Regions from separate parts of the Homo sapiens genome. Here region 1 is linked to region 2. The links are contacts of gene promoters, found by promoter capture Hi-C in human tissues and cell types (Jung and others, 2019). All regions are on one chromosome and are shown on one strand. Each heading gives the region's core, a stretch centred on a gene start or on the middle of the fragment in contact. The rest is flanking DNA. Distances are from core to core; before and after follow the strand shown.

Region 1 (2,700 bases), core at 82-2,581, 74 kb before region 2:
TGGGGAGAGGGTCAGCAGGAAAACATATGAGCAAAGATCTCTGTGTCGTAAATAGGTTTAAGGAAAGGTGCTGTGCCTGGATGTGCACGTAGGCCAGATTTATGCTTGACTTTACACAAACATCTGAGTGCATTAAGGAGCAGTATTGCCGCCAGCATGTCTCACCTCCAGCCATAGGGAGGTTTTCTGCTATCTCAGTATTTAGAGCGTATGATCGGGTTTTACACCAAGACATTCCATTCCCAGGGACGAGCAGGAGACAGATGCCTTCCTCTTATCTCAACTGCAAAGAGGCCTTCCTCTTTTACTAATCCTCCTCAGCACAGACCCTTTATGGGTGTCGGGCTGGGGGACGATCAGGTCTTTCCCTTCCCTCGAGGCCGTATCTCAGGCTGTCACATGGGGAGAAACCTTGGACAATACCTGGCTTTCCTAGGCAGAGGTCCCTGCGGCCTGGCCTTCTGCAATGTATTGTGTCTCTGGGTACTCGAGATTAGAGAATGGTGATGACTTTTACCAAGCACGCTGCCTTCAAGCACTTTTTTAACAAAGCACATCCTGCACAGCCCTAAATCCATTAAACCTTGAGTCAACACAGCACATGTCTCTGTGAGCACAGGGTTGGGGCTAGGGTTACAGATTAACAGCATCTCAAGGCAGAAGAATATCTCTTAGTACAGAACAAAATGGAGTCTCTTATGTCTACTTCTTTCTACATAGACACAGTAACCGTCTGATCGCTCTTTCTTTCCCCCACAACCCGCCGCCATCACTCATCTGGTAGAGCTTTGCTCACCACCATCACTCACCAATCAGAGCTTCACCCGCCACCATCACTCACTAGTCACAGCTTCATCTGCCACCATCACTCATCTAAGCTTTACCCACTGCAGTCATTCACCAATCAGTGTTTGCCAACTCCCTAGAACCTTACTAGTGCCAATGAAGTTTCTGGAAAAACAGTATGTGACATTTTTCATTTTTATAAAACCTCTAACAACTGAGCACGATGGCTGACAGGCGTGAGGTGGGAAGATCACTTAAGGCCAGGAGTTCAAGACCAGCCTGGACAACATAGTGAGACCCCCCTGTCTCTACTAAAAATCAGAAAAATTAGTCAGGCATGGTGGCATGTGCCTTGTAATCCCAGCAACTTGGAAGGCTGAGGTAGGAGAATTGCTTGAGCCCAGGAGTTGGAGGCTGCAGCGAGCTATGATTGCACCACTGCAGTGCAGACTGGGCAATAGACCAGACCCTGTCTCAAAAAAAGCAAAACAAAACAAAAACAATTTTTTTAAAAAATAGAAAAATATTCTCAAAGTCCAGCAGGAGGCAATTGGTTAAATAGATTATGCTCCACTTCTTGCTAAAATAAGACACATTTTGGTGACAGATAGCAGCTGACAGATGGCAGCCAATCGGAGGCCTCTAAAGGGCAGCAAGGGGTGTTGCCAGGTTCCTTTAGCTTAATAAAAACCCTAATTGAGGAAGCTCTTGAGCCGTTTGCTCCAGCCACTCCCACCCTGTGAATTGTTTTCAATAAAGCTGTGCTTTCCGGGTCTTTTGTTGCTTTGTCTTTCGTTTGTTCTTTCTTTGTTCTTTCTTACTTTGTGCATTTTGTTCAGTTCTTTGTTCAACACACCAAGAACCTTGATGACTCTATCTCTGCTTGGGTCTAATCAGTTATCAAACTAGAGTCAGACTGGATCTAAACGAAACCGCCTTCCAAACAGGGGGTCACCAATTTATAGACAGCTCCTCCCGGGTCATTGAAGGAAAAAGGCACAACGGGTACTCCTTAGTTGTTGGGGAGACCTCACAGAGGTAGAGTCAGGAAGACTGCCAAATGCCTGGTCTGCCCAAACATGCGAACTCTTTGCATTAAACCAAGCCTTAAAATCCCTGCAGAATCAGGAAGGAACTATTTACACCGACTCCAAGTATGCCTTTGGAGTAGTCCTTACCTTTGAAAAATCTGGACTCAACAAGACCTCGTAAATAGTAAGGGCCAAGATCTGGTCCACAAGGAATTAATTATGCAAGCACTAGAAAATCTTCAGCTGCTGAGCCGGGCATGGTGGCTTGCACCTGTAATCCCAGCACTTTGGGAGGCCGAGGCGGGCAGATCACCTGAGGTCCGGAGTTCAAGACCAGCCTGGCCAACATGGTGAAACCCCATCTCTACAAAAATACAAAAATTAGCCGGGTGTTGTGTTGGGCGCCTGTAATCCCATCTACTTGGGAGGCTGAGGCTGGAGAATTGCTTGAACCTGGGAGGCGGAGGTTGCAGTGAGCCGAGATCGTGCCACTGCACTCCAGCCTGGGCAACAGAGTGAGACTTCGTCTCAATAAATGAATGAATGAAAATCTTCAGCTGCCAGAAGAAATTGCAATTGTCCATGTCCTAGGCCCCCAAACACCCATCTTTTGAAAGCTGGGGAAACAACTTCGCAGATCAGATAGCTAAACAAGCTGTCTCTTCCCAAGAGGCACCCATTTTCCATCTCACCCCTTGTCTTCCCCCTCCAGCTGTGATCCCCACCTTCTCCCGTGCAGACCAAGAGAAACTAAAGAACATAGGAGCTAACGAGAGCCCAGAGGGAAAGTGGGTAATACCAGATGGAAGGGAAATGCTGTCTAAACCCCTCATGAGAGAAATATTGTCACAGCTTCATCAGGGAACTCACTGGGTTCCTCAAG
Region 2 (2,700 bases), core at 154-2,653:
TTGAGCCAGCAGCACCAGTGTTGTAAGGTGCTTAGATCAATGATTCACAAACAACCAATGAAATACGAGGTGCCTGGGGTACAGTCAACAAACACAGAGAACAGAGAAACCTTCCCGTTGATGTAGAGACTCCAGCCTGTTTGCTCATCTCTGGTCCTGAAGAGCCCAGGCCCCATTCTTTCCTGCCCGGGGGGATGAGGGTGGGGGGTTTCTGCTCGGCAGCACTTGCCGTGGGAGGGGTGAGGGACTGGGTCACACCAGCCCGTTCGTTACAGCCCCAGGGTTTATTAGAGTGTGCATTAGTATTATTGAGTAAGTACTTGAGAGTGTCTGATCTTGGGCCAGAGAGGCACAAAGATGCCATTGTGTGGGTCCAGCACCTGCCTGCAGAGCGTGGGTCAGCCTTGGGTCCCAGGGAAGATGACACACACCTGGGAAATGCAGGGTCCGGGAGGGAGAAGGCAAAGTTCTGGCTCAGGTTGGCTGGGGATGAGGCCAGCAGAGCCAGGTGCCCAAGGGACCTCAGCCACGAACTCTGAGCACAGGCTGGCAGGTGACTCTTGGTGCCTCATGCGACTTGTTTATCTAAAGGGATGAGATTCAAGGCCTGTCCTGGGGGCTGGGGGCCGTCAAAGCTGACGAGAGAGGGGAATGTATATTCTAACAGGGAGATGGTCGATGAATACGTGCAGGAAGAAATGGACAGGACAATCCAGAGAGATCGCGTGTTCTGAGGACAGCACAGCCAGGCTCCGGTACGGAGTGAAGCGGGGTCGGGGAGGCGGCGGGGTCCCTCATATGGCCCGAGGAGGCCGTATATAAACTGACCCTGAGCCACACAATAGTGCCCTCCTCTGCCCCTAGGAAGCTCGAGTGCAGGGTCCAGGTGGGGAAAATCAATGCAGAGTGGGTCCCAGAGTGGGCGGAAGCTTGGGCTCTAGGGCGTGCGGGACTCAGCTGGCAGCAGCCCCACGTCTCTCTGGTTCTAAAGCCCAGTCCATTTCTGCTCAGCAGGGAGATGGCCAGTTCCCCAGAGGACTTGCCCAGGGTCCCAGCCGTGGCCCTGGGAGGGTGCAGGGGTTGGTGAGGGAGTATCCCGAGGCTGTGGGCCCTGCCTCTGTGGCTTGGGGTGCAGATGGACACCACCCTGCCCTGTCCTCTCGAGTCCTCTGGGCTCATCTGAGTGGGCGCGTTCGGGTGGTGCAAACTCTGGATGGCATCGTGTGTCTTTTCTTCTCTGGCTGGCACTGACTTGCTGTTCACCAGATGCCAGCAATGAGGACACTCCCCCTCCCGGATGCAGGACTGGTTGCCACCATGGGGAGGGGTGCACCGTGCCACGTGCTCCCAGGACACTGGCCAGGGGGCTATAAAGAACATCTCGAGAGGAGCCAGCACAGCCTTGTTCAGACGCCCAGTGACCTGCCGAGGTCGGCAGCACAGAGCTCTGGAGATGAAGACCCTGTTCCTGGGTGTCACGCTCGGCCTGGCCGCTGCCCTGTCCTTCACCCTGGAGGAGGAGGATGTGAGCTGGGTTGGCGTGGGCGGATGGAGGAGCCAGGCGGACTCCTGGGCAGGGGGCAGTGCCAGGGGCCCTGCTTTAGGAGGTGTCACTGAAGGCTGGCTTCTGACCCCGTGCTCCCAGCCTGGGGTGGTGGTGGAGGGGTCCTATTGTTCCTCCAGCAGACACGGCCCCCCGAGGCCCAGGGCCGGAGCAGGCTCGTCTCAGGGGTTCCTGCTGCACTGACGCCTGAAGCCCGAAGGTCTCGCAGGGTTGGGCCCTGTGGAGGGAGGGCTCACCTGGTGCTGGGGCCCGGGGGTCCATGGGGTGCAGACATGCCCTCCTTCCACTGGGGGCTGGGAGCCCTGAGCAGGGGGCTGGCTCTAACTCACTCCAGCTGAGCTCTAACTAAGGTGCAGGAACACAGCCTGCCTTTAAGGGCAGCAGCCGGGCACCATGGGTGTCTGGTTATAGCTGCAGGCCTGAGTGCCAGGGTCAGAGTAGAATCTGGGCCACCCATGGTGGGCTCACGGCCTTGGCCTGCTCCAGATCACAGGGACCTGGTACGTGAAGGCCATGGTGGTCGATAAGGACTTTCCGGAGGACAGGAGGCCCAGGAAGGTGTCCCCAGTGAAGGTGACAGCCCTGGGCGGTGGGAAGTTGGAAGCCACGTTCACCTTCATGTGAGTGTTGCCCACTGCAGGGCCCCTCAGGCCACTTTCGCTCCCCTCCCCAGATCCACCTGGTGCCCATTGCCCCATCCACGTTTCGGGTGTTGGGAAGAGTCACCCCCTGCCTTGGAGGGAAACAGCCTGGGCATCCTGAAGCTCGGTGGGGTGGGGGGCAGTGGAATTTTCAGGTTGCCGGGTCAGGGCCATGCACCAGGTGAGCTGAGGATGGGCCATGGGTGTCCTGGGAGCCGCTGCCCGCGTGTCTCCTGTTTTCCAGGAGGGAGGATAGGTGCATCCAGAAGAAAATCCTGATGCGGAAGACGGAGGAGCCTGGCAAATACAGCGCCTGTGAGCCCCTCCCCCACTCCCACCCCCACCCTCCCCCACCGCCAACCCCAGTGCACCAGCCTCCACAGGTAGAGAGTGCCCAGGCTGCCCTTTTGCCAGGGCCCCAGCTCTGCCCACCTCCAAGGAGGGGCTGGCCTCTCCTTCCTGGGGGGCTGGTGGCCCTGACATCAGACACCGGGT

The links. Contacts are between HindIII fragments. The study calls those that stand out against the background at their distance.
Region 1: a contact is called between a fragment that was not itself captured here and the fragment with the promoter of OBP2B in region 2, in 3 of the 25 tissues and cell types used here (H1 embryonic stem cells, mesendoderm cells and stomach).

Annotation. Positions count from the first base shown.
Region 1 is chr9:133,281,456-133,284,155 of GRCh38, reverse strand. No RefSeq gene overlaps it. Among named protein-coding and RNA genes, the nearest start is that of SURF6, 53 kb to the left of the region's middle. The HindIII fragment of the contact is 8,824 bases long and covers 1-2,700 here.
Region 2 is chr9:133,207,953-133,210,652 of GRCh38, reverse strand. OBP2B (odorant binding protein 2B) reads left to right here and starts at 1,403. Exons shown (of 7, transcript NM_014581.4): 1 at 1,403-1,525; 2 at 2,051-2,184; 3 at 2,450-2,520. The coding sequence starts at 1,454. The HindIII fragment of the contact is 7,424 bases long and covers 1-2,700 here.